Linked DNA regions of Homo sapiens: regions 1, 3 and 4 are each linked to region 2. The links are contacts of gene promoters, found by promoter capture Hi-C in blood cells and fetal thymus (Javierre and others, 2016). All regions are on one chromosome and are shown on one strand. The core of a region is centred on a gene start or on the middle of the fragment in contact, and the rest is flanking DNA. Distances in the headings are between cores, read along the strand shown. Region 1 overlaps ABCC11 (ATP binding cassette subfamily C member 11). Region 2 holds the start of N4BP1 (NEDD4 binding protein 1). Region 3 overlaps LONP2 (lon peptidase 2, peroxisomal). Region 4 overlaps ABCC11 (ATP binding cassette subfamily C member 11).

Region 1 (7,377 bases), core at 688-3,187, 380 kb after region 2:
AATCGTGGCATCGACATAGGCGATGACATGGTTTCAGGACTTATTTATGTAAGTAGATCTCTTAGCATCAGCACACCAGGAAACTGAGTTGGCAGAATATTCTCCACGGTCATAAATTACGTCAAACAATTTCTTCCCATACTTATTTACCCTTGAATTTTTTTTCTTTTCTCTTTTTGCTCTCTCTCTCTCTCTTTTTTTTTTTTTTTTGACTCAGGGTCTTGCTTTGTCACCCAGGCTAGAGTACAGTGGCACAATCATAGCTCACTGACACCTCCTGGGTTCAAATGATCCTCCCACCTCAGCCTCCTGAGTAGCTAGCTGGGACTATAGGCACATACCACTACGCCCAGCTAATTTTTAAATTTTTCACAGAAATGGGGGTCTCCCTATGTTGCCCAGGCTTGTCATGAACTCCTGGCCTCCATCCTCCTGTCTTGGCCTCCCAAAGCACTGGGATTACAAGCATGAGCCACCCCACCCAGCTACTCTTGATTTTTTTCAAATAGACCTCAGGCTTCCACAATGAGATCAATTATAATCCATCATCATGGCATACCTTCATGGTTTATGCATATCTCTATGCATAATATTATATAGAGATTAGATTGTATCTATCTCTCTATCACCTATTACCTATTTATCTATGCATTTACTCATATTAATAATAATAATAATAAGCATCTGCAAACCCATCACCAATACATCAGCTTGGACCTTGGCAATCACACGCAGCAATTGGTCTTCCCCCATGTCATTCCCCAACCCTTCCTACCTGATGTAACCACTATTCTGAATCTCTTTCTGTCAATCCTTGCTGTGCTTTTAAAAAGTATTATTTTATATAGAATATATTATTTATTCTATATGAAGTCCTAAAAATTACCTGTCCTTTTATTTTAGTTGTCAAAAGGGAAACATATAATATTTTAGGATTTGCTTTTTTACTTGTTGGTTTCTTTTTAGTAGATTTACCCTCAAAGAGTGACTTGGTCCCTCATTCTGCAGGTAACTAACTATGGCACCCTTTATTCCTGTCTAAATTGTTTACTGTCAGATAAAAATCCAAAGAGGTAGAGTGACTGGGCCAGACTCACTCAGCAAATGTGGGTCAGAGCGAGTGCTGGGATCCAGTTGCCCTGACTCTCGGTCCCCTGCTTATTCTCGGTATGGAAGCCTTTCTTTAGGAAGCAGGATATGGAAAAATCCATTTCTCCATGGGCAGCTGGTCCAACATTCCCTCAGGACAGAATTTACGAGATTTGAAACTGATGCTCTTTTGTTTTTCTTTTCCAAGAAAACCTATACTCTCCAAGATGGCCCCTGGAGTCAGCAAGAGAGAAATCCTGAGGCTCCAGGGAGGGCAGCTGTCCCACCGTGGGGGAAGTATGATGCTGCCTTGAGAACCATGATTCCCTTCCGTCCCAAGCCGAGGTGAGTCCTGATGGGGGTGGTGGGAGAGAGCTGTATCCACCAGGGCAATGATCCCCAACCCTCCCAACTAGACCTCTCACGAAGGTTGCATAACTACATCCCTACACAGCCAAATCCCTTCAGAGCAGCCTGAGGCACACCAGGGAGGCACATCGTCATAGCCATTCATTCATTATTTATTCATACAGAAAGGATCATTGAGCACCTACATGTGCCAGGCACTGTGCTACATCACAGGGGAAGAACAGTGAGCAAACAGACGTGATCTTTGCCATCATGGACCTCACATGGGAGAGAAAGACAATAAGCAAATAAACTTGTGCATGACATGATTACAAGCTGTTTGAGGAAGGTGCTGTGAAGAAGTATGCGAGTGTTGAGGGACCGGAGAACCATGACAACTTGGTAGGTTCTGAGTGGCTTAAGCTGAGTGACACCTAGAGGGAGAACAAGAATTTCCTAAGCAAGAGTAGGAGAAGAATGATCAAGGAACAGCCTGTGGGACAGCCTTGCCTGGAGGGGCAAGGAACACAGCATGATGTGTCCAGGAACTGAGAAAGAAGGAGGCCAGTGTCACTGGAGAGTCTTGTGTGATGTGGGTGTGGCATGAGGTGAGGCTGCAGAGGCAAGCGGATCAGACAGGTTCTCAAAGGCCACATTAAAGTTACCAGCCGGCCGGGCGCGGTGGCTCACGCCTGTAATCCCAGCACTTTGGGAGGCCGAGGCGGGTGGATCATGAGGTCAGGAGATCGAGACCATCCTGGCTAACAAGGTGAAACCCCGTCTCTACTAAAAATACAAAAAATTAGCCGGGTGCGGTGGCAGGCGCCTGTAGTCCCAGCTACTCAGGAGGCTGAGGCAGGAGAATGGTGTGAACCCGGGAAGCGGAGCTTGCAGTGAGCCGAGATTGCGCCACTGCAGTCCGCAGTCCGGGCTGGGTGACAGAGCGAGCCTCCGTCTCAAAAAAAAAAAAAAAAAAAAAAGTTACCAGCCTTGGTTATGGGAGTAACCAAGTTGATTTCCAACATGTTTTCTAAGATTTTTATCTATCAACAAACTGCATTTGTTTGCCCATTTTTAAAATCTGAGCTTCTGTCAATACTAGTTACATTGTTACCATATTGAATTATGTTATCTCCACCAAGAACAAAGAACCTTGGTACTTTCATTCACCTGGGTAACCTCATCTTAGATAAATATATTGTTTCTGTTGGGGCTTTAAGATATTAGCACTGGCTCATAGGTCTTGCCCTGTCTTTTGTGATCACAAATGGTACAATCTCTTGCCCTCCCCTCACCCGCTCCTTGCTCCAATATCCCTGGCAATGGCATGTGGCCAGCCTTGTTGAGAATGCTGTGAGGATATGAAAGGGTAGAGAAAAGACGTCATAGTCCCTCTCCCCTACCCCCCAAAAGAAATCTTATAAGTTCGGCATTTTCATCTTCCCATCTTTCTCCTCAAGTCTCTTTTCGAATTGCATTTTCTTCCCATTGAAACACATAAACTTAAAGGCAATTTTGAAAAAAAAAAAAGTGGAAAAATGACACATAATCCCAATACCCTAATTTAGTCATTTTTGGTATTTGTAAATCATTCTTAAAGGTAATACCTTATCATCTTTAATTATTTATGTATTCAATTTTATTGTTTGTAAAAGTTTCACAGAAGAATTAAAGCCTTGAGGACCTCTCTTCCTATTTCTTTGTCAACTCCAACTCCTTTTTCAATGTCAACCACTATCAGCAATGTGATATAAATGTACATACTGTTTTGTCTGCTTTCTCTCCTTTCTTCCTTTTTTATATAAGTGAAAAAAATACTGAGTTTTTTTTTTCTTTTGAGACGGAGTCGTGCGCTGTCTCCCAGGCTGGAGTGGTAGTGGCGTGATCTCGGCTCACTGCAACCTGTGCCTCCCGGGTTCAAGCGATTCTCACGCCTCAGCCTCCCGAGTAGCTGGGATTACAGGCGTGCACACCACCACACCAAGCTAATTTTTGTATTTTTAGTAGATACAGGGTTTCACAATGTTGGCCCGGCTGGTCTCGAACTCCTGACCTCAGGTGATCCACCCTCCTCGGCCTCCCAAAGTGCTGGGATTATAGGCATGAGCCACTGGGCCCAGCCAATACTGAGTTTTTAATCTGCAAGTGGCTTTTTTTTGGCTTTTGCTTGGAACTCTTCCTGTGTTTTACATATAAACAAACCTTATTGAAAAAAAAAAAACCCCAAACATCTACATTGCATTTGCATTTTATAGTATGGGTAGATCATAATTTCTCTCTTTTTGTTTAAATAATTCCTCAATTAATGGGCACTTTTGTTGTTTATGATTTTCAACTTACAAATAAGAGTCATGAAAACATGTTTGTGTGTAGATCTGGGTAACCTCGTTGTGTTTTAATATGGTTGTCATTCATCCTTGCAAAATCTTGATCCTGAATTCATTCTTATCCTTGTGGCCCCTCTACTAGGTTTCCTGCCCCCCAGCCCCTGGACAATGCTGGCCTGTTCTCCTACCTCACCGTGTCATGGCTCACCCCGCTCATGATCCAAAGCTTACGGAGTCGCTTAGATGAGAACACCATCCCTCCACTGTCAGTCCATGATGCCTCAGACAAAAATGTCCAAAGGTGAAGCTGCGCTGGGCAAACCAGTGGATAGGTTAAAAGACAATCTCTTGGTGGGATAATGACCAGAGATGCCTAAGGGTGGTAGGGAGGGGCCATGCCAGACGACTTGGCTCTTCCTGTAGGAAGAGGCCTCATACTAGGTGAGGGTTTTTAACGTGGGGTTCATGAATCTCCTAAAATGGTATGGATATTTTGTACATACGGGCTGGAGATCTTTCTCTGGAGCAAGAATTCACATCTCTTATCAGACTTACCACAAGGCTTGTGAACCCAAGAAAGTTATTTTTCATTTTTTTCTTTTATTTTTATCACTATTTTTTTTTTTTTTTTGAGATGGAGTCTTTCTCTGTCACCCAGGCTGGAGTGCAGCGTGGTGCAATCTCGGCTGACTGCAACCTCTGCCTCCTGGGTTCAAGTGAGTCTCCTGCCTCAGCCTCCCAAGTAGCTGGAATTACAGGCGCTTGCCACCACGTCCGGCTAATTTTTGTATTTTTAGTAGAGATGGGGTTTCACTATGTTGGCCAGGCTGGTCTTGAACTCCTGACCTCAGGTGATCCACCTGCCTTGGCCTCCCAAAGTTCTGGGATTACAGGTGTGAGCCACCACACCTGTCCCAAGAAAGTTAGAAATGACCACTTCTAGTCCCTTTTGATTTTCTCTTCTGGATCAGGCATTCAACAGTGGCACTGAGTATTACTTTGGGTAAGTGGCCCAGTCTCCCAGTGCTCAAGCCACCGCTAACTAGTTGTGTGATTAAATTTCTTGTACCACCCACCACACACGGTAATATGAGGACAAAAGGTGGGAGAATATGAATATGTGATTTTAAAGATCCTGTATTCATGTTCCTACCTCTAGCTGCTTCATGAGAGATACCAGGTGGAAAATGAGTTTCCAAATGTGTTCTGGAAATTATAGTCTCATAAGAGCCTCCCCATAAAGAGCATTCAGTAGTCAGAGGAGTTTGTGAAATGTTGTGTTATAGCCAGGTGTTGGAGATTTACAAAGCAACTTAACACATTGAAGGCACATGTTTTCACATGGAGTACAGAAACTGGGTAAACTTTGACCCATTCCTTCTCAGACCTATTTGGTAAGAAAAAAAGAAATGGTTCCAGGAAATACTTTTTGGATAATGCCAGATATTAGTCAGAATCTCACCTCTTACTATGATATCAGACAAGTTTCCCTTTCTGGGCCCTGTGTCTTTATGTATAAAATAATGGATTGGCCGGGTGCAGTGGCTCACGCCTGTAATCCCAGCACTTTGGGAGGCCAAGGTGGGCAGATCACGAGGTCAGGAGATCGAGACCATCCTGGCTAACAGAGTGAAACCCCATCTCTACTAAAAACACAAAAAAATTAGCCAGGCATGGAGGCGGGTGCCTCTGTAGTCCCAGCTGCTCAGGAGGCTGAGGCAGGAGAATGGCGTGAACCCAGGAGGCAGAGCTTATAGTAAGCCGAGATTGCGCCACTGCACTCCAGCCTGGGCAACAGAGTGAGACTCCATCTCAAAAAAAAAAAAAAAAAAAAAGTGGATCATAAATTTATTTCATGGTCCTTCATAGGATTGTTGCAAGAAACAAAAGAGGTGATAAATTCATTTTTTAAAGTACACAGAGAATCGCTTGAACCCGGAAGGTGGAGGTTGCAGTGAGCCAAGATTGCGCCACTGCACTCCAGCCTGGGTGACAGAGTGAGACTCCATTTCAAATAATAATAATAATAATAATGTACCTGGAAACACACTTGATGCTTAATAGGTAACCAGCTAAGTCAATTTGAGTTTGCTTGTTCTTCTCTAACCATTGTGAGTACAAGATCTCCTGATTTCTTTCCATTCTCTTCCAGTTCACTGATTCTCTTTTTAATTTCGTTACTTACAATGTCTGTCCACAAACACTTTTGCAATCACTCCGTTTTTGTTTTTTGTTTAAAGATGAGATCTCACTATATACGCAAACTACGAAATACAGAAGGAATGGAAGAATTAGAAAACTCATCATTTTTCCAGCACTAGTGGAGGTGGCGCTAGGCAATGGTCATCAGTGTTGGAGATCTTGATAATGAAGGAGCCAGGCTGACACACCTTAACCCACTGATCCCCACCAACATTCCTAAAAGTGGGACACCAGACATCATGTGGTTCCTGATGTGAGGCGACAGGAAGTACACTCATCACCTCTTACATTTTTTTTTGCCAAACGGCTGGAATTCTGGATTTCATTAAGCCTTAGGTCTAGTGACCAGTTTATTAGGAAGCACAAGGGATCAACAATTATGTTAGACAACACCATGGAGATGCAATCAGTCCAGTTCAGAGTGTGGGAGATCCTACAGGATAAATAAAAATCAGTTTCTCCAACAAATAAATGGCATAGAAATGCAGACAAGGGGAAACGCTTACAGATTAAAATGCAGCTCAAGAGTTCTATCAGATTTCTCCTTTAGACCTTGTTTGGATCTTGATTCAGAGAAACTAACTCTATAAAGACATGTTTAAATAATTAGAGAAATTTCAATACAGACTGGGCATTAAATGCCATTAAGTAATTATTGTTACTGTGGTGTTATTTTATTTTATTTTATTTTTTTGACAGAGTATCGCTCTGTCGCCCAGGCTGGAGTGCAGTGGCGCCATCTCGGCTCACTGGTTCAACTCACCTCCCGGGTTCAAGCCATTCTCCTGCCTCAGCCTCCCGAGTAGCTGGGACTACAGGCACCCGACTGTAGTGTTATTTTATTGTTACTATTTTTTTTTTGGTTTGTTTTTTGTATTTTTTGAGATGGAGTCTCACTCTGTCACCCAGGCTGGAGTGCAGTGGCATGATCTCGGCTTACTGCAACTTCTGCCTCCTGGGTTCAAGCAATTCTCCTGCCTCAGCCTCCCAAGTACCTGGGATTACAGGCGCATGCCACCGTGCCAACTAATTTTCGTATTTTTAGCAGAGATGGGGGTTTCACCATGTTGACCAGACTGGTCTCGAACCCCTGACCTCAAGTGATCCACCCGCCTTAGCCTCCCAAAGTGCTGGGATTACAGGCATGAGCCACTGCGCCTGGCCCTGTGCTATGGTTTTTTAAAGGACTTTATCTGAAAGAGATATATACTGAAGCATTTAGAGATAAAATGATATGATGACTGAGATTTGCTTCAAATCCTCCAGGAAACAAAAGTCAAAGGGAAGAGACATGAAACAAAAATGTCAAACATTTTTGATTCTGGAAAGGGGGATGAGTACTCAGAAGATTACTACATTGTTCTATTCTGTTATGTTTGAAAATTTCTGCAACAAAGCTCCTGGCTAGCAA
Region 2 (7,290 bases), core at 4,105-6,604:
ATGGTGTGAGCTGGGCCCAGTGCAGAGAGGAGCAGAGGTGGGGCAGGCAGGAGACAGGTCTGGTAAGGGCTGCCACTCAAGGCAAGGGCTTTGGATTTTATTCTGACCCTGAGGGAAAGCTCTTGGAGGATCCTAAGTAATGGTCTGACAGATGAGATTTGCAATTTGAGAAGATCACTCTGGCTGCAGCATCGATATTTGTAAATAATTTATCCGAATCTCCTACTGGTTGTAGCTCTTGACACTTACAGACAGGCCAAAAAGGCTATGGGGAGACCTCATGGTTGTCAGAGAGATGATGGTGGCTTGGATTGTTGACAGGGGATGAGAGACGTTCAACAGTTTGCAAATTTATTAAAACCTTGTGTGTGTAGTTGAAGAATGATGATATAACCGTTTCTTACTCGAAGGCCCTACATGTGATTGTACCAAAAACACGGAACCCAGGACACTGCTGGCCAGAGAGCATCTTTGTCTGCTGATCTGATTGGTTGGGTGTGCCGAGCAACATTCCACGTGCACATCTGTCTGGTTTTGACAGCATCCTACGGCAAGGAAGGTCCAAGACTAAGGGGTTGGTCATGAGACCATGTGCTCTCCTCTTGCTTACCTTTGCACAAGGGCAGAAGAAGGGGCTGGCTGCATATCCAAGCTTGCTGCTGCTGTCATTATGGCATAGCACATAAGGCCAGTCAGCAGAGTCATGTAACCAGCAAAGGGTCCGTCTGCTCGCCACTGGTACAAAAATGACAGAATAACAAGAGCAAAGTGTGATAAGGAGATTTTATTATCCATGCTAATAAGGGAAGGAGTGGGTGAGATTCTTTCCAAAAATTTCCACCCTTCAATTTGTGGGGGGAATGCAGGGGTTTTTAAAGAGAGAGGGGTTTGGAATGGAGAGGAAGGGGGCTAGGAGGGGTCAGTGGTGCAATCCACTCCAACAGCTTATCTTGAATTATTGTTCCCTTTGGTGAAGGGGCCAGTGCCATCCTGGGCCTGACCAGGTTACAAATGAACTTCAGCCAATCTTGCAGTTAATTTCTAGTGCGTGAGCATGAGTAAACGTGAGTGAGTGTAGCCAGGAGTAAATTTCAGCCTTGACCGGGGAGAGAATTCTGGAGGCATACGGTCCATGTCAAGATCCAGCCCCTGGATGGGCGCAATGGCTCAGGCCTGTAATCCCAGCACTTTGAGAGGCCGAAGTGGGCAGATCGCCCAAGGTCAGGAGTTTGAGACCAGCCCGGCCAACATGGCAAAACCCTGTCTATACTAAATATACAAAAATTAGCCAGGCGTAGTGGCGGGCGCCTGTAGTCCCAGCTACTTGGGAGGCTGAGGCAGGAGAATGGCGTGAACCCGGGAGGCAGAGCTTGCAGTGAGCCGAGATCCCGCCACTGCACTCCAGCCTGGGCGACAGAGCGAGACTCCGTCTCAAAAAAAAAAAAAATTAGCTGGATGTGGTGGTGCATGCCTGTAATCTCAGCTGCTCGGGAGGCTGAGATAGGAGAATTGCTTGAACCCGGGAGGCAGAGGTTGCAGTGAGCTGAGATGGCACCACTGCACTCCAGCCTGGGAGACAGAGCAAGACTCCATCGCAAAAAAAAAAAAAAAAAAAAAAATCCAGCCCCTGAGGCTTCTAAGGAAATACATGACCAGATAAGTGAGCATGGTATGTGCTTGACGAGTGTTTGGGTAAATAAATGAGCATATGGCATGGGAGAATGGAATGGGGAAGGATAGGGAGTGGAGGTTCACAGTCCATTCCAAGGCTGTATGTCAAGATGACAGGAAACACATATGCAGCTTGTCTCAAAGTTGTATCTTGAGACTGGGGAGAAAGAAGGAAAGAAAACAAGGTTTTAAAATGCAGTTTGAAGCCAAGCTGCCTGCTTACAGTCAGACTGCCTGGATTCAAATGGCTATTTCTACCACTTCACTGACTAGCTCTGTGGAACATTCCAGAATTTCTCTATTCTTCTGTTTCCTCTTTTTTCCCCCTTAATTTACATTTTTTGTGGGGGGGCAGGTAAGAGACAGGATATCGCTATGTTGCCCAGGCACACCTTGAACTCCTGGGCTTAAACAATCCTCCCACCCCAGGCTTCCAAGTAGCTGAGACTACAGGCACCTGCCACCACCCCCGGCTGGTTTCCTCATCTTTGAAACAGGAAGAAAAACAATAGCAACCACTGTTGGAGTTTTAGGAGACCAATAAACACTCTTTCTGCCCCTTCTGAGTTCAGAACTAAGGAAGAAAAGCAGGTAGAGATCAAAATGTCATCATCATTGCTGACAAGAGCTAGACTGGAGGATGTGGTTGAAGTGAAAATACTTTACCCCCAGTCACTAACACAGCAACTGCAGACAGCCCATTACCAGGGTACAGGGCGGTCCAACCCAGCACCCCACCTTCTCAGAAAGTTATCAGTCAGAGAAATCCTCCTCCTGCTCTGGGGAAAAGGAGAATGAAAGCTAGATAGACATGTTCCTCCACACTTGGCCCCGCTGGGGAATGGAATAGGAATCTCCTCCTGTCCTTGAAAATATGAGAAGCAAAAATAAGTGATTCTCTCAATACCATTTTATGGGCTCTTGAGGTTGTTATGAGATTAAGGAAAAACACAGCTAAAGTATCTAGAATACAGAATTCATAAGGTTTCATCTCTGGCATCGACTGTCCTGGCTGGTCAGGCCAGCCAGATAGGCAAGGCTGGTTAACCGAGGGAAGTTGTGGTTGAGTGAGAAACAGCATGAAGCAAGGAAGTTCTTGAAAGGGGATTTTTTTTTTCTCTCTCTCTTTCTCCTTGTTCCTTACACTCAGGAAACCTTGAGAGTTCCCTAAAGGGAAATGCTGATCAAATATGAACTGGCAAGTCTTTTTTTTTTTTTTTTTTCTGAGATGGAATCTTGCTCTTGTTACCCAGGCTGGAGTGCAGTGGCGCGATCTTGGCTCACTGCAACCTCCGCCTCCGGGGTCCAAGCAATTCTCCTGCCTCAGCCTCCCGAGTAGCTAGGATTACAGGCATGTGCCACCACACCCAGCTAATTTTTTATATTTTGAATAGAGACGGGGTTTCACTACGTTGGCCAGGCTGGTCTCCAACTCCTGGGCTCAAGTGATCCGCCCTCCTTGGCCTCCCAAAGTGCTGGGATTACGGGTGTGAGCCACCACACCCAGCCTGGCAAGTCTTAAATTAAAACTGGAGGAAAAACCTCCCAAAACTATGTATCTTCAATTATACACCAACCCAGTGACTTATTAGCACAGCTTCTTGGCCCAGCATTTTTTAAGGGTGTGTGTATGCACTGCTTCTGTTGGTTTTGGGTGGGATTTTTTTGGAGGGAAGTGGGGAGAGGAAGGCACTGTGGTGTGTTTTTCAAGGCAGCCTCCCTCTTCACCTCTTACAATTAAGCAATTAAGAATCGCAAGCAGGGAAGTCACTGGGAGCAAACAGGAACCAGCCCTGGGGAAAGCCCTGTCTAATCACTGAACAATAGCAATTCCGTTTAAGGTGAGTGCAATAAGGCAGGAAATAACATGCTGTGTTGACAACATGCCTTACTGATAGACTGCGGTTCTGCAAGCAATGCATCAGCAATGCCACACTCGCCACCTGACCTGCCTCAGCCAATCCCACGTCATCTACCTGATGGAGCAAGGCTGCTGGTTGTGTGGACATCAAGGGAAAAGCCCAGGGGAGCAGGAATCTGTTGATCTGTGAGCCTAGTGGTTCTCTTCCCTGTGCTGAATCACTTCTTGGTGGGGCACTGGGAGACCACACCTGAGTTTCTGAGACATATGGAAACCCCCAGAAGCCTGGATCTCTCATAGGTTTTACCTTGGGTAAATCCTCCTACAGAGACCATTCCCCCTTGGTATTTCCAACTACAGCATCTTTAGCTCCTCCTCTTTTTCCTCTAGCAGGGATGTACACAGATGGCACAGACTCCTGGGCCCACAAGTTCACTGTGGTTGCATAATCCACACAAAGATTTTCCCTGAAAATTAGGCCTTAAATATATTGCTTAAGTTAGCAATAATAATGTTCAGTGAGCACTTACAGTGTTGGGTGCTGTATTAATATTCACAATAGGAAGTACTATTATTATCTACATTTTATAGATGAAAAATTAAAACAGAGAGAGGTAATATTCCCAGAGCCCCTATCTACTATAGCCACAATATTTAGCTGAAGGAAAGGAATCCAACACTTTATCTTCCACAATCTGTTTTCATGGACTCAGAGAATATAAAGGCCTGGAAAAGGCCTTAGAGATAACTGAGTGTACTCTTTTATTTTACAGATCAGAAAACAGACCTGGAGAGGGGTTAGGGTTTATTTGCTCCAGTCCCAGGGAAGATCATGAGTGAGCCCCCAAACTCCCACTTTTCGGGCTTCTCCCATAACATATCCCCTTTCTTCCCTCACAGAAGAAATCACTCTCCTGAATTTATCTTTTTTTTTTTTTTTGAGACGGAGTTTCGCTCTTCTTGCCCAGGCTGGAGTGCAATGGCGCAATCTCGGCTCACCGCACGCAACCTCTGCCTCCAGGGTTCAAGCGATTCTCCTGCCTCAGCCTCCCTAGTAGCTGGGATTACAGGCATGTGCCACCACGCCGCGCTAATTTTTTTTTTTTTTTTTTTTTTTTTTTTTTTTTTTTTTTTTTTTTTTAGCAGAGACGGGGGTTTCTCCATTTTGGTCAGGCTGGTCTCGAACTCCGGACCTCGAGTGATCCACCCGCCTCTGCCCCCACAGACTGCTGGGATTACAGGCGTGAGCCACCGCGCCCGGCCTTCTTGAATTTATCTTAATCATTTTTTTGATTTTCAATTCTCCGTAAGTATGCCCATTTTCTTCTCTTCTTGCTACCATTTTTACTGAAAGAAATAAAAAGGGAAAGAGAAAAAAGTGAGAAGGGCAGCTAAGAAGGTAAAAGGGTAGGGAGGAAGGGAAGAAACAGAGAAAGAAAAGTCCCGTCTGCCTGTGGATTAACGTGAAACTGAATAACTCAACTGCTAGAATCCTGGTTTGAGCGTCAAGATGTCTGAGGTCAAGTCCAATCCCTGTGACACTCTCAGTCTCGCCTCCTGGCAATTAAGTTTCCCCAACTATAAACCCATATATCTACATCCACCAGATCCCGCGAAAGCGGTTTCCCCTCATCAAAGAAGTCCGCCCAGGCCTCCAAAACCATCCCTTTATTCTCAACCAACATGGCGACTGAGGGTGACGTCAACTTCCGTCGCCTTCACCCTACTCCCTTCCCCTAGGGGGCGGCGAGCCTCAATGACGGCTGCGGCCGGGGCGCATGCGCGGCGGCGGGGCCCGGCCCGCGGCGGCGGCAAAGGGGCGGAGGGGTTCGCTGCCAGCAATTGCCAAGCTGCTGCGGTCGTGGCGGGATGGTATAGCCGGGCCTGAGGGCGGGCGGCGGGGCGCGGGCGGGGGCGAGGCGGCCGGGAAGGGCCGACGCCGCCTGACTGGCTTGGGAGCAGCGGCAGCAAGCTGAGGGGGCGTCGCCGCCGCCGGCCCCCGGCGCCGCCGCGGGAGGCCGCGCCCGCCATGGCGGCCCGGGCGGTGCTGGACGAGTTCACTGCGCCAGCTGAGAAGGCGGAGCTGCTGGAGCAGAGCCGCGGCCGTATCGAGGGCCTGTTTGGCGTGAGCCTAGCCGTGCTCGGCGCGCTAGGGGCTGAGGAGCCGCTGCCCGCGCGCATCTGGCTGCAGCTCTGCGGGGCGCAGGAGGCGGTGCACAGCGCCAAGGTGAGTCCGGCCGCCGCCCCCGCGCGCCCGCGGCCTCGATCGGTCCGGGTCTCCGGGCTCCCGCTCCTCCCCGCCCCCGCCGTCCGCCGCGATGCGCCTGGGTTGGGAACGCAGTCTCGGGAGCCAGCGAACGTGCCTTTTCGGCTCGCGAGCCATGTGACCTTGGATAGCGGCTTGATCCCCGGAGCCTCAGTTTCCCCATTTGTAAAGTGGCGCTGACGAAAGTACCTACCTCAGAGGGCTGTCGCGAGGATGAAAGTGGGGGATGTGTATGAAGCGCAGGCACAGCGTGTGGCACGGATCGGGTGCGCTGCGCATGTCGCCTGTTGTTGTCAGTTCCCCGGCCCCCAGGATGGTACGCAAGGCCTGTTGCTGGGCCCGCAGCCTCGTCCACCACCTAAGCCTTTATCCCCCAGTCCCGGGCCTCCACTACTGCAGTTCTGAGCCTTTTTGGGATCTCAGTTCCTCTTGAGAATCGGAAAAAAACTATTAATAGTAATAAAACGCTCGGAGAATGTCAGAAAGAAAGGATTTATGTTTACCTATTTTTTTCTATTTGAGACAGGGTCTCACTCTGTCACCCACAGTGGAGTGCAGTGTGGCGCGGTCTCAGTTCACTGCAGCCTCGACTTCCCGGGCTCAAGTGATCCTCCCACCTCAGCCTCCCGAGTAGCTAGTACTATAGGAGCGCGCCACCACGCCCGGCTCATTTTTTTTTTTTTTTTTGGTAGGGGATTTCACTATGTTGCCCGGGCAGGTCTCGAACTCTTGGACTCAAGTCATCCTCCCATCTCGGTCACCCAAAGTGCTGGGACTACACGCGGGAGCCACCCCGGCCGGATATTTAATATGTTAACAAAAAATAGCGTTATTCTTTGTATTGATATTACCTACAACTAACATTTACATAACGCTTAAGAACATCACAGGTTGCTTCAGAAGGAATGTGCAGCCCTTATGGCTTCTAATAAGGTAGATTTTATCCTCCCCACCACCACCCCGCCTTTTTTTTTTTTTTTAATTAACAGCTGGGGAAACTGAAACTCAAAGTGGTGACTCACCTTCTGCCTAAATCAGCATTTCAGACCTCTTCAGCACCTCTATCTACTTCCCCCCCTTTCCAAACCAAAAAGCAACACAGTATGTTGCTCCTCCTAGGTAACCAAGTTTCTCTAGGTTTTTCCATCTCCTAAGTAGGGCAGCAGGATTCAGACCTAGGGAGTTTGTTTCCAGAGCCTTCGTTCTTGATACTTGCCTCTCATATGATGAGCCCTGTCTGCGGGGTGGGCAGGAAGGGCCCTCTTTTTGCATCCTGCTTTGTCAAGTAATGTCAGTGTCCTTGAATCTGAGTAGTCGTATCTCCTGATGTTCTTAGATTTAACAAAAAATCGTGAGTGTTTGCATTTCACATCCTTAAAGGAGACGGGGCACTCAGCTGTGTAGTTCTTCAAAGCTTAACTTAAAACATTGTAGGCCGGGCGCGGTGGCTCACGCCTGTAATCCTAGCACTTTGGGAGGCCGAGGTGGAAGG
Region 3 (6,760 bases), core at 254-2,753, 350 kb after region 2:
GCAGATCAAGGTAGACTTCAAACAGATCCCATCATACATATAAATGTAATAGATGATAATGGGGATGGGAAGGATTATTTAATTAGTGGTGTTGAGTCAAACAAAAAGCTATTTGAGGGAAAAATACAACTGCTGTCTTCAAAATAATATATGGGTTAAAGAATTAAATACTTTTTAAAAAATCAACTAAAATTAAACTGAAAGGAAAGTGAATATTTATCAAGCCACTGAAGGTTAGAGGACTTAAGCTTAGAAAACAAAAAAAGATCAAGAGTTTGACTAAATAAAAATGGAAACTTATTATAAGTTGAAAACAGCCAAATTTTGACACAACATATAGTCCTTTTAAGAAAGAGTTTTGTATTAGTTTCTTAGTATTACATGCAGTAAAAAAATGTTATACTCAAAGACACCCATCATAGTTATTTGTTAGTGTTTACAATACACAAAACATTGGAAACAACACAAAAGGGGAAATGGCTCAGTAAATTATCCTTTTGGATGATAACCAAAACAAAGTGAGAAAAATGCTTACATGCTTTAAAAAAAAATCCAGGCAAAGAAAAGGATGAGAGGGAAACACCTAAATTTTATCAGTAGTGCGAGTGGTAGGAGACAATAAACTTTTCTTCTTTGTTCCTCTCTTTATTCTCCTTATTTTTTTTTCAAAACTGAAATGGGTTAAAATAAATATTTACCCTCTTATCATCATCTTGCTTGGGTTTTCTGGTTTTTTGAAGCAATTTCAGGCCTTCAATTTGTCTGACAAGCAGTGGTATAGTCATCTTGAACCGCTCCTCTAGGCTCACAGCATCTAAAATCTAAGGAAATGTGAGTCAATCAATAGGATCTCTCTCAGAAACACACAATCCAAAAACAGACAGTCAGAGCCATGGTTTAAATTGCCAAGTTAAAAAAAAATTATTAACAGTATTCAAAGCTACACTATGGCTAAGACAACCAAATGAACTATATTAATCAGCAAGGTTGTTTGAGATGAATATCAGAATCCTTAAAAAAGAAAGAAAAAACAGGATCTTGGTTTTTCACTTTAAAATGAAGCTGTGTGGTTTTTTTTTTTCTTTTTTTTTTTGAGACGGAATCTTGCTCTGTCCCCAGGTTGGAGTGCAGTGGCGAGATCTTGGCTCAGTGCAAGCTCCCCCTCCTGGGTTCACGTCATTCTCCTGCCTCAGCCTCCAGAGTAACTGGGACTACAGGCACCCGACACCATGCCCGGCTAATTTTTTGTATTTTTAGTAGAGACAGGGTTTCACTCTGTTAGCCAGGATGGTCTCGATCTCCTGACCTCGTGATCTTCCCACCTCGGCCTCCCAAAGTGTTGGGATTACAGGCGTGGGCCACTGCGCCCGGCCGAAGCTGTGTGTTTTTAAGATGAAAAAACCAGACACACAGTTGACGTCAACTCTTTCTGGGAATTACTCTCTTGAAGCCCAGAATGTGTTTTCATATTAGATCTAAACAAATTATAGGTTCAAAATATTAAATGTTTACATACACAAGAGAACAGAAGCACTCAACCAACTCTCACTAGTGATTTGTCGGAGCACAGGCCGCTCTCTGTTCCCGCAGTAAAACACACTGCTGCCGCCCACAGCCAGGGGGCTCTCTGGCAGTCCTGTAACTCTTCTACTCCCACTGGATTAATTGAATTCCTGTGTATAACCAACCTGTTTGTGTTAGTTGTATTTGCTATTATAACAGTTGGATTTAAGTATTAAATAAACTGATAACATATGAAAGAGCTGTTTCACTGAAAACAAACAAATATTCTAGGATGATTCATTAAAAATACTGCTTTAAAAATATCTTAAAAATAAGTGTGCAAGAAAACTTAAAGTATTACAGTTTGGGGATTAAGTCATGTAAATGTAGGATTCTATACTTGGATTACTTTTCAAGTGTCTTTAAAATTCATTTCACTTTAAATAAATATAAATTTAAAATTATAAGTAATGCATCATAGGTGTGATTTATATAAGAAACATGATGAAGATTCTAAGAAAGCAGGTCCACACATAAGGGAAGGGCCATGGCTCCACGTTTAAAAATAGTGAATCAAAGAATGTCTACATATTTAAGTTAAATTAAATATTTATTTATTTATTTATTTAGAGGCAGAGTCTCTGTTGCCCAGGCTGGAGTGCAGTGGTGCAATCTTGGCTCACTGCAGCCTCTGCCTCCCAGGTTCAAGCGATTCTCCTGCCTCAGCCTCTCGAGTAGCTGGGATTATAGGCGCGCACCACCACGCCCAGCTAATTTTGTATTTTTAGTAGAGATGGGGTTTTACCATGTTGGCCAGGCTGGTCTCGAACTCCTGATCTCAAGCGATCCACCCATCTCAGCCTCCCAAAGTGCTGGGACTACAGGCGTGAGCACCCAGTCAAATATTTACCTTTTTATGATTCTTTGCTTTAACTTTTTCTGTAAATTGACTACCATTACTGATTATGCAAATAAAAGAGCTGCTTGTGTCAACAAAAATATAAAATAAAAGAGCTGCTTGTGTCAACAAAAATATAAAACAATCACATTTGAAAGTCAGTTTAAATGTAAAAGCATTTCAATTACTTTGGGTCTCCAATATCTTTTTCTTGAAGGTCAAAACTTAACTACTCACTATCTAGATCTCAATAAAAAGTGACAAAGCAACCTGGCGTTCAAAAGGGAACACTGTACCTGGAGTTTCTCTTTGTTGCTTGTTCGGATAATTGATGTCAAGATGTCTGGTAAAGCTTCCCTTGGAAGACTATCTAAAAGACGTCTCAATTTAGCAACTGCAGGGACAGACATATCCAACATTTCAACCAACTAGAAGGGGGAAAAAAAGTCTTTTAAATGAAATCTGGCATTATTTGTGAATTTTTAAAAATCAGATTTCCATCTAGGTTTAATGTTTGGGCCTCAGTCTTTGTTTTTGAAAGATCACTGATTAATATAGTCCACGTATTTTACAGGCCTCAGAGGAAAAGAAAAGTACTTTCAAAACATCAATCAGAATGAAAAGCAATAATGGCTTAAAAGTAGTTAACACTAATGTTTACAAGGGTTTTGTAAACCTGTGCCATGATTATTTTTAACTTTCTATTGAAAAAAATTCAAATGTACAAAAAAGTTGCAAGAATCATACAATAACTCCTGTACATCCTTCTTCCAGATTCACCAATTGAATTCACCAACTGAAAAGTGGCATTTTGCCATGTTTGCTTTCTCTCTCTCCACACTCACACATAATTAATGAACATTTGAGGATAAGCTGCAGAATCGAGATCCTTATTCTTTAAATCTCTAATCCTGTGACAGATTAAGGACCCTTGTTCTTAAGAACAAGAATATTCTCTTACATAATCACAATATAAACCCTATTAGATGCATATTATTAGAAATATGTGTATTATTAGAAATTTAGCATAGTTGATGCTATTATCACGGCCAATCAGAGGATGAAATATTAATATTTAGTATAACATTTTGTATTAGTCTGTTCTCACACTGCTAATAAAGACATACCAGAGACTGGGTAATTTATAAAAGACAGAGGTTTAATGGACTCACAGTTCCACATGGCTGGGGAGGCCTCACAATCATGGAGGAAGGCAAAGGAGAAGCAAAGGCCTGTCTTACATGGTAGCAGGCAAGACAGCGTGTGCAGGGGAACTATCATTTATATAACCATCTGATCTTGTGAGACTTATTCACCACCAAGAGAACAGTATGGGGGAACCGCCCCCATAATTCAATTATCTACACCTGGCACCGCCCCCTGACACATGGGAATTATTACAACTCAAGGTGATATTTGGGTGGGGACACAGCCAAACCATATCAATTTGGACTAACTAGAATCTGAGCACTGTGAATGACTTTTAGAAAAACAACTGTCAGCGTATATCTGGGAGTTAAGATAGATTATGCCCAAGGCACACTTTCAGTAACTGTGATAGTCATTAGGGCTACTGACAAACTCCCCTTTTCTTCTGGGCACTGCTCTTTCTAACTTCCTTCGAATATACTAATAGGTGTGTCTATGAGTCTTAAATTGATCCATGAAACGTAGTGGAAGTGACAGCTCCTTCTGGGCAGAAGCATTACAAGCCAATGAGAGATGCGCCCCATTTCCTTTTCCTGCCTTAGAGATAAGGGAAGCATGTCTTTAGATGAATCTCCAATCCACCTGGGTCCGAGTGACTTTAATAGGCAGACACAACCCCCACTAGTCTCAGGCATGAAGCATGAGCCAGAAAGACACTCACATTATGCGACTGAGATTTCAGAGAAGTTAACATAGCAAAACTTAGTTCACACTAATTCATAATGATGTACTAAACCTTCATTTAGTCAGTTCAAATCAGATTTCATGTGCTAGTAATATTCAAACCTCTCCAACAACATCGTAATTTTGGAACTTATCCATTACCTGCCTAGAATGAAGGGAATTAAAGTATAATTACGATGAAGCTGTTCAGGTGGAAGAAGTAGATAATAAAATTTGAATACCCTTGCTACTAGGAATTCACCCCACGAAAATAAAACAGTTAAAACTCATTTTCCAAACATTTACTGAGTACAAACTATTTGCCAGACCCAAAACACTGCTCAGTACAGGATGGCTAAAGGAGAAAAGTGAATTCAAGTTTGGTAGAGAAAAAATACCTATAAGATACATTTCAATACAATGTGATAAGCATTATGTTAAATGACATGTATGACAGACTGTGAAGGCACACAGAGATGAGCGCTAACAGCCTACAGCTGTTGGGAAAGCATAGATTCAATTTTAAAATTCAGAGATGGAGGCCGGGCGTGGTGGCGGTTGGATCATGAGGTCAGGAGTTCGAGACCAGCCTGGCCAACATGGTGAAACCTCATCTCTACTAAAGACACAAAAAGTTAGCCGGGCGTGGTGGCGCATGCCTGTAATGCCAGCTACTTGGGAGGCTGAAGCAGGAGAATCGCTTGAACCCGGGAGGCGGAGGCTGCAGTGAGCCGAAATTGCACCACTGCACTCCAGCCTGGGCAACAGGGCAAGACTCCATTTCAAAAAAAAAAAAAAAAATCAGAGATGGAAGAGCACTCCCAGCAGAGAACTGAAGGCAGAATCATAGAGACATAAAATAACTCAATGTGAAGCTGTTTTACATTCAGTAGAGCTAGAACTAGGGTGTCAGTGAGGTGATAACTAGAGTTGACGCAAGACAGATAGGCCCAAGACAAGTTGCAAACGGTCTTAATGTTATACTAAGAAATTTGGTGTCCATCCTATAGCCATTAAAGTCTTTTACTCAAGGGAATGGGATGCCCCAGACTTCTTTTAGAAAGGCTCAGTGAAGAGAAAAGGTTCAAGACAGAAGAACTAGGAGACAGGATGCTATTGAAGAAGTTCATTGAAGAGATGCAGAAGTAGAAGTAGATGCAGAAGGGGATGAAAGAGAATAATTGGAAATAACTTTAATGTCTAAAAAGAGAAATTATAAAATTAGTATACATTAACTCAATGAAATTAACAAAAGTACTTAATATGAACATCAGACATGGATACAAAAACAAAACATATAATTGAATATGAACTGAGCCCAGAAGACGAACAAAAATTAAATTTGATGCATGATGACAGTAAGATGTGTGGTGATCTATTTATTTCTAAAAATTCCTTTAATGTCACTGCAAAATCTTTACAAGTTTAAAAAGTTCCTCTAGATTCAAAGTACAAAGAAGTAAAAGCAAAGCAAAAGAGGCTATGAAGCTATCTATGTCCAATAGAGGCACAAAGACCCAGGGAACATCACTGCTGAAAAGAAAAAGAAATTCTATTTCTCTCAATCTCCTTTATTCCTAAGCAGTATATTCACTTATTCCAGTTTTCAAACTGAAATTTCTTTCCTCAAAGTGCTTTCTTTCAGCCCATATAGAAATTACAGATTCAAATTTTCTATTTTTCTTTTTTTTTTTTTGAGTCAGGGTCTCGCTCTGTTGCCCAGGCTGGAATGCAGTGATGCAATCTTGGCTCACTGCAACTTCCACCTACTAGGTTCAAGTAATCCTCCCACCTCAGCCTCCCCAGTAGCTGGGACTACAGGCACGCACCATCACACTCGGCTAATTTTTGTACATTTTGTAGAGACGGGATCTCACCATGCTGCCTAGGCTGATCTCGAACTACTGGGCTCAAGCAATCCACCCACCTCAGCCTCCCAAAGTGCTGGGATTACAGGTGTGCACCAGCGCACCTGGCCCTCAAATTTACTATTTTTCTGTTATTGTTCATTACACTGTAAGTATGGCTCTTCAAATGCCACATCAGATACAAATACCACTGGCTATGAACACTTGCCCCACACATATTTCAATGATCAGTAGTATTTATAATTGTGACTTTTAAACATTATCTGATCCTCATAGATCTAGTTATAGTCACTGGATTAAACTAATAGAAAAGTAGAAGACTATACTTTATAATTTTATGTTTCATTAAGGTTTGAAACAAAATGGGGTGGGAATAGGAGCTTTCTGTTCTATCTAGAGTTAACCAAAAAGAACTAGAATTAAAGAGTCAAATATTTAATGCATATCTAAAATGTGCTTCCTTCCCAGCATTCTAGTTAATCAAGGTTTTAACCATACTTGAAATCAGCCCACCACAGGCTTGATCTACCATAGTTACTGCTAGACAATGTGATCTTGACTTTTGAAGTAATATATTGTAATTTATATAAATGGTGCCTAGATATTTTAGTGACAGACA
Region 4 (7,468 bases), core at 4,829-7,328, 440 kb after region 2:
AATCCCAGCACTTTGGGAGGCCAAGGCAGGGAGATCACTTGAGGCCAGGAGTTTGAGACCAGCCTGGCCAACATGACAAAACCCTGTCTCTGCTAAAAATACAAAAATTAGCCAGATGTGGTGGTGCATGTCTGTAATCCCAGCTACTCGGGAGGCTGAGGCACGTGAATCGCATGAGCCCGGGAGGTGGAGGTTGCAGTGAGCCGAGATCGTGCTACTGCACTCCAGCCTGGGTGACTGAAGGAAACTCTGTCTCAAAACCTTCCCCGCCCCCACACAAAACAACAAAAAAATGGTTGTGTTAGGGGAATGATAAGACATTTAGTGATAGATTTCTATGTTACAGTAGAATGTGGCCAAATCTCCTGTGCGTTGATATGAAGAGTAGTAAAAATATGAACTAACATTTATTGAGCATTTATATGTGCCAACTGAATGCTTTAGTATACTGCCTAATTTAACTCTCCCAGCAACACTGTGAGGCCCCTTCATTATCCCCATTTTACAGATGAAGGCACGGAACTTAGAGAGGAAGGGGACTTGTTTAAAGACACACAAAGAAATGGCGAACATGAGATATAACCCTAGGTGTTCTAAACCCATAATTTGTGATATTTCCCCCCACCTCTTTCTGTAGAAAGAAATGTGGACTTGAAATCCTACCTTAGAACTTAAGGCTCTACCCTTAAGCATCTCTCTGAATGTCTTGATGCCAGCCTGGCTCTCATACTGGCTTGTGGCGTGACCTTGAACAAGCCATTTAAAACTGATAAGAAAGGAGTATACCCATCTCATGGAGGAGAAAATGTCAAATAACCCATCTATGAAAGTGCTTTGGAGATATCAAATGTCATGCAAATAAGACCTGCCTCTTCTTTAGTACACATTAGCCCTACACACAAGATATGCGTGGCTGGCACAACTGGGGAAGGATAAAGCAAGGTTGACAGGTTTCACTCAGGGCTACATGGCTGCATAGCAGGGAAGTGTCTATAGTGCTGCCTGTTCCAGATGCAAGTGTAAAGCTTGCTGGGTGTAAAGTCCAGATAGATTCCCTCTCTCATGTCAGTTACCTGGATGTTAGGATTCTTTTCACTGCAAGAAACAGAAAGTCCAGCCCCCCAACAATGAGCTACCACTTCACACCTACTAGAATGGCTATAACAATAATAAAAGGTAAATAGCAAGTATTATTAACAAGGATGTGAAAAAATTGAAACTCTCATGCATTGCCAGTGGGGATGTAAAATTGTGCAGAGACCATGGAAAACAATTTGGCAATTCCTCAAAAAGGTAAACAAAAATTAGCTGGGCATGGTGGTCTGTGCTTGCAATTCCAGCTACTCAGGAGACTGAGGTGGGAGGCTTGCTTGAGCCCAAGAGGTCAACGCTGTAGTGAGCTGTGTTTGCACCACTGCACTCCAGCCTCGTAGACAGAGTGAGACCCTGTCTCAAAAAAAAAAAAAAAAAAGTTAAACATAGAATTACCATGTAATCCAGGAATTTCACTTCTAGTTATATATCCCAAAGTGTTGAAAGCAGAGACTTCAACCCATATGTGTACACTAGTGTTTAGAGCAGCCCTACTCACAGTAATCAAAAGGTGGAAACAAGTCATACGTCTATAAACAGATGAATGGAAAAACAAAATGTGGTATATACATACAATGGAATATTATGCAGCTCTAAAAAGAAGGGAAATGTTACATGCTACAATATGGATGGACACGAAGTGAAAGATGCCAGACAGAAGGACACATACTACATGAGTCCACTTATATGAGGTAGCTGGAATAGGCAAATCCATATCGATGGAAAGTAGAATAGAAGTTACCAAGGGCTGGTGGGGAGGGGGAAGAAGAGACTGTTTAATGGGTATAGAGTTTTTGTTGGGGATAATGAAAAAGTTTTGTTTTGTTTTGTTTTGTTTTGTTCTGAGACCGAGTCTCACTCTGTCACCCAGGCTAGAGTGCAGTGACACCATCTCAGCTCACTGCAACCTCCACCTCCTGGGTTTAAGTGATTCTTCTGTCTCAGCTTCCTGAGTAACTGGGACTACAGGCTTGCATCACTGTGCCTGGCTAATTTTTGTATTTTTAGTGGAGTGGGGTTTTACCATGTTGGCCAGGCTGGTCTCAAACTCCTGACCTCAAGTGTTCTGCCCACCTCAGCCTCCCAAAGTGCTGGGATTACAGGTGTGAACCACCATGCCCAGCAGGATGATGAAAAAGGTTTCGATATAAATAGTGGTAATGGTTACATGACATTATTAATGTATTTAATGCTGCTGAATTGTACACTTTTAAGTGGTTAAAATGATAAATATTATGTACTTTCTATCACACAATAAAACAAAACCCAAATGGCTTAAGGAAAAGTGGCCTCTAATGACTCATGCATGATAATGGGGAGGCCAAGGCTGAGTTCCAGGGCCCGGTTTTCCCCTAGCATTGCCTTGCTTCATTCTGAACTCCACATGAGGGCCCTGGGGGGCTCCATGTGTCCCACTCCTGTGGGAGGATGGTTGCAATCTCTCCGCACGTCTCCCATGGTAGCCTGAAAAGTCCTGAGATACACTCTGATTGGTTACTTTCCCACCCCAAGCTAAGCACCATGGCCAGGGATTGCTGTATGTCGATTGGCTTATCCTTGAGCCCTTTGCTCCATCAGGAGTGGATGGTGGAGCCTGCCCTGGAACACATGGGCTGGGGGACTGGGGAGGAGGTGGCCCCTAAACAAAACCTGGGCCTGCTGCCTGCAGAAGGAACAGGTGCTGGGAGGCACAAAAAATCTCCATTTGTGGTGGTTCCATGAATTTCCCTAAACCCCATAATCCAGTTCTAAACATTCTTGGTCATTCACTGGGCATATAAATGAGTGTTCAAAGCCTGGGTGATGTTGTTGAACACTTCTCTTTCTCTCATATGGTAGATTCAACCTAGATCCCTTTGACCGTCACACTGACCAGCAGATCTGGGATGCCTTGGAGAGGACATTCCTGACCAAGGCCGTAAGTAGCTCCAAGGCCCAAGTCTTGGTCTAAGTCTGCATCGCCCATGGGGGGCTGCCCCTTTGGGGCTCCTCTCATGTGGTGTTCCAGCTGCTGCTGCTTCGGGTCATGGATGCATCATCTCATGGAGATGAGATGACTTGGCATTCCTAAGTCAAGGCTGATGGCACTCAGACACCAACCGTGTGCCAGACACTGTTCTAGGCTCAGGGGCACAGCAAAGACAAGGCAGATGAGGTCTTTGTCCTCCTGGTACGTACATTCAATAGGAGATAAAGGCAACAAGTAAATGCAGGAGATACTTTCAGATACTGGTAAGGGCTGTATAGGTAGTCATGAGACCCATAGAAACGTCAGGGCAGGAGCAGCTCTTTTCAATTGGGTGGCCAGGCAAGGTCTCTTTAAACAGGTGGCAGCTGAGCTGAGACCAAGAACTGAGGGGCAGCCGATGAAAGATCTTTTGAGAGGACATTCTGGGCACAGGAGCTAGCGTATGCAAAGGCCCAGAGACGAGAGTGAGCAAGGCGCAGTTAAGGAGCAAGAAAACAGAGGCTGGAGCGTAGAGAGAGGAGGGCAGTGTTGCCAATACAGCGGAAGATTGACAAGGTCAGGTTGGGTCTCACCCCACAGTGGCTTCCAGGTTATGTTGTCTCTTCTTCCCATATCGCAGATCTCAAAGTTCCCCAAAAAGCTGCATACAGATGTGGTGGAAAACGGTGGAAACTTCTCTGTGGGGGAGAGGCAGCTGCTCTGCATTGCCAGGGCTGTGCTTCGCAACTCCAAGGTGAGGCCACCACTGCCGTGTGGCCAGGGGAAGCCACAGACTACGCATGATGAGGGAAGCCACACCGGCTCCCTCTCCCTTCACTACCGTGGGACACTGGGCTCTGTGGTGTACGTCTTAACAACAACAACAACAACAACAACAACAGCAACAGAATCCAAAGGGCTTATTCATTTCCTTTTTTTTATTATTATACTTTAAGTTCTAGGGTACATGTGCACAACGTGCAGGTTTGTTACATATGTATACATGTGCCATGTTGGTGTGCTGCACCCGTTAACTCGTCATTTACATTAGGTATATCTCCTAATGCTATCCCTCCCCCCTCCCCCCACCCCACGACAGGCCCCAGTGTGTGATGTTCCCCACCCTGTGTCCAAGTGTTCTCATTGTTCAATTCCCACCCATGAGTGAGAACATGCAGTGTTTGGTTTTTTGTCCTTGCAATAGTTTGCTGAGAGTGATGGTTTCCAGCTTCATCCATGTCCCTACAAAGGACATGAACTCATCCTTTTTTACGGCTGCATAGTATTCCATGGTGTATATGTGCCATATTTTCTTAATTATTTCCACACATCTACAACCATCTGATCTTTGACAAACCTGACAAAAACAAGAAATGGGGAAAGGATTCCCTATTTAATAAATGGTGCTGGGAAAACTGGCTAGCCATATGTGGAAAGCTGAAACTGGATCCCTTCCTTACACCTTCTACAAAAATTAATTCAAGATGGGCTTATTCATTTCACTGAGTGCCATTCCACATGCATTTGTGGTGTGGGTGAGGCATGGTAGATGAGATTCACAGCCTAGGCTGCCTGATAGCGGATTCCTTACACCTGAGCTGAAATGTCTCCAACTAGACCAAATGATGATCCTCTTTTCTCAGAAAAACACAACACATTAGACCCTCGTTGATTTTTAAATTGCCTACTGTATACTGTTTTAAAAACTTGGATGCAGTACATCCCTTTTATCTTTATTAGAACTGGGAATTGGATGACAGATGCTGATCCAGGGCAAAATTGCATATATATATATTTTTTAAATTTACTTTAAGTTCTGGGATACATGTGCAGAACGTGCAGGTTTGTTGCATAGGTACACATGTGCCATGGTGGTTTGCTGCACCCATCAACCCATCATCTAGGTTTTAAGACCCACATGCATTAAGCATTTGTCCTAATGCTCTCCCTTTCCTTGCCCCCCACCACCTGACAGGCCCTGGTGTGTGATGTTCCCCTCCCTGTGTCCATGTGTTCTCATTGTTCAACTCCCACTTGTGAATGAGAACATGCAGTGTTTGGTTTTCTGTTCCTGTGTTAGTTTGCTGAGAATGATGACTTCCAGCTTCATCCATGTCCCTGCAAAGGACATTAACTCATTCTTTTTTATGGCTGCAAAATTGCATATTTTTAAAAATTTGGCGGAACAGGGCTTCCAGAAGCTTTCTAGATATTTTGTCCATAATTTCAGGTGTTTGAGTATGTGAGATAGCCTGGGGCAAACCTTCTCCTACGTAGGCGAGGCAAGACACACATGTACACACATACTTATGCATGCATATGCACATACCTTCTCCATACTCACACATGTATGCATGCTCACACACATGTATCATGGTTAATTAATGATAAATGCAAAAACTGTTGGTGCAAACTGTCAGAGCTGTGGGAAAAGAGCTCAGTGGGGCCCAAAGCCTGGGAAAATTTCAGAGGAGGTAGGACTTTCCCCCTCTTCTTTGGAGAGATGAACAACAAATTTGCAAAGTACATGTAGTACTTTCTTCACACTTCCTTATTTCAATTACATAGCCATTTGGTGCTGCAATGGCTTCCTCTGTATTGCTTCCCAAATTTGAGTCATTACTTTATGATTTTTGTCATCTCTGGGTACCACCTACCCTGTGATTTACTAATGATACTCCCTTTTCAAAAACAGCCTCATCCCAAGCAGTGCCATTTGTGAAATCACACTTTCAGTGTGAGTTACAGTTTCCTCATGCATATCGTTAATGAAATAAATACAAAAATGTTAAACTAAAAAGAATGTTTATCCATATGCTGGAGAAATCATCTCATGTGCCTCCTGGGGTGTGTGCCTGCCCCTTCTTGGAGAACACCGCTCTACTTTAGTTTCGGTAAATGGGAAAGTAGTTAATAAAACAAGAAGTTGCCACTAGGCCATTTTCATTTCCAAGAACTTAATTCTCTGGCCACTAAAATGCAGTTAGCTCCTGGTTGAGACCTAACGTTCTCTTCATAAGGTAATGGATAATCAGCAATCAGAGCGGGCTTTGCACTCGGCATAATTCTCCCATTTCCCAGCTAAAGAAATGGAGACCTGGAGAGGAAGGGCCCTGGTGAATTAGTGGTAAACCAGGGCTAGACCCAGGTCTCTAGGGCCTGAAGTAGACACCTTCACCCCTGTTTTGTATTCATCAGATCATCCTTATCGATGAAGCCACAGCCTCCATTGACATGGAGACAGACACCCTGATCCAGCGCACAATCCGTGAAGCCTTCCAGGGCTGCACCGTGCTCGTCATTGCCCACCGTGTCACCACTGTGCTGAACTGTGACCACATCCTGGTTATGGGCAATGGGAAGGTGAAGGCTGCGTCCTTGGGCTGGTGGGAGGATGAGGGCTCAGGCTGCTACCCCAGATGCCTTTGAGTCCTCCAAGGACACAAGCTCAGCTGTGCCCTGATCCTCCCCTCGCCTTTCTCTACCCTCCAGGTGGTAGAATTTGATCGGCCGGAGGTACTGCGGAAGAAGCCTGGGTCATTGTTCGCAGCCCTCATGGCCACAGCCACTTCTTCACTGAGATAAGGAGATGTGGAGACTTCATGGAGGCTGGCAGCTGAGCTCAGAGGTTCACACAGGTGCAGCTTCGAGGCCCACAGTCTGCGACCTTCTTGTTTGGAGATGAGAACTTCTCCTGGAAGCAGGGGTAAATGTAGGGGGGGTGGGGATTGCTGGATGGAAACCCTGGAATAGGCTACTTGATGGCTCTCAAGACCTTAGAACCCCAGAACCATCTAAGACATGGGATTCAGTGATCATGTGGTTCTCCTTTTAACTTACATGCTGAATAATTTTATAATAAGGTAAAAGCTTATAGTTTTCTGATCTGTGTTAGAAGTGTTGCAAATGCTGTACTGACTTTGTAAAATATAAAACTAAGGAAAACTCACTTTCTTTGTTCTGCTTCCTTTCGTTTCTTTTCTTTTTGTTTTTTTAGACAGGGTCTTGCTCTGTTGCCCAGGCTGGAGCGCAGTGGCGCAATCTCAGCTCACTGTAGCCTCTGCCTCCCAGGTTCAAGCAATTCTCCTGCCTCAGCCTCCTGAATAGCTAGGATTACAAGCATGTGCCACCATGACTGGCTAATTTTTGTATTTTTAGTAGAGGCGGGGTTTCACCATGTTGGCCAGGCTGATCTCAAGTGATCCGCTTGCCTTGGCCTCCCAAAGTGCTGAGGTTATGGGCATGAACCACTGCACCCAGCCATCTTCATTCTGCTTTTTACGTTAGCTAGTACTTATTCAGTTGCAAGGAACAGAGACTCCCTCAAACTAACTTTGGAAAAAAAAAAGAGTTTGTTGGTCTTGTAACAGAAAGATACAGAAAAAGTTCAAGGTTGGGTGCCGGAATGAAAGGATGCCTGTTTTGAGG

Evidence for each region. Contacts are between HindIII fragments. The CHiCAGO score rates a contact against its expected background, and 5 or more counts as called.
Region 1: a fragment that was not itself captured here is called in contact with the fragment with the promoter of N4BP1 in region 2 in 7 of 17 cell types (fetal thymus, M0 macrophages, M1 macrophages and 4 more); the score reaches 8.0 in fetal thymus.
Region 3: a fragment that was not itself captured here is called in contact with the fragment with the promoter of N4BP1 in region 2 in 7 of 17 cell types (fetal thymus, naive CD8 T cells, erythroblasts and 4 more); the score reaches 8.3 in fetal thymus.
Region 4: a contact is called between a fragment that was not itself captured here and the fragment with the promoter of N4BP1 in region 2, in 1 of 17 cell types (M1 macrophages). The highest score is 5.2, in M1 macrophages.

Annotation. Positions count from the first base shown.
Region 1 is chr16:48,224,494-48,231,870 of GRCh38, reverse strand. ABCC11 (ATP binding cassette subfamily C member 11) reads left to right here. Exons shown (of 30, transcript NM_001370497.1): 2 at 1-48; 3 at 1,298-1,434; 4 at 3,907-4,065. Among named protein-coding and RNA genes, the nearest start is that of LONP2, 16 kb to the left of the region's middle. The HindIII fragment of the contact is 4,111 bases long and covers 1-3,992 here.
Region 2 is chr16:48,608,244-48,615,533 of GRCh38, reverse strand. It overlaps N4BP1 (NEDD4 binding protein 1), which reads left to right and starts at 5,354. Exons shown (of 7, transcript NM_153029.4): 1 at 5,354-5,759. The coding sequence starts at 5,562. It overlaps LOC124903687 (a long non-coding RNA gene), which reads right to left and starts at 5,224. Exons shown (of 2, transcript XR_007065063.1): 1 at 5,016-5,224; 2 at 4,321-4,879. RefSeq lists enhancers at 3,812-3,891, 5,084-5,163, 5,174-5,223, 6,174-6,223 and a silencer at 5,264-5,863. The HindIII fragment of the contact is 6,560 bases long and covers 655-7,214 here.
Region 3 is chr16:48,252,679-48,259,438 of GRCh38, reverse strand. It overlaps LONP2 (lon peptidase 2, peroxisomal), which reads right to left. Exons shown (of 15, transcript NM_031490.5): 3 at 2,698-2,829; 4 at 699-821. Among named protein-coding and RNA genes, the nearest start is that of ABCC11, 8.5 kb to the right of the region's middle. The HindIII fragment of the contact is 2,505 bases long and covers 251-2,755 here.
Region 4 is chr16:48,166,431-48,173,898 of GRCh38, reverse strand. ABCC11 (ATP binding cassette subfamily C member 11) reads left to right here. Exons shown (of 30, transcript NM_001370497.1): 27 at 2,932-3,010; 28 at 3,681-3,794; 29 at 6,239-6,403; 30 at 6,533-7,468. The coding sequence ends at 6,625. Among named protein-coding and RNA genes, the nearest start is that of ABCC12, 14 kb to the right of the region's middle. The HindIII fragment of the contact is 1,669 bases long and covers 5,244-6,912 here.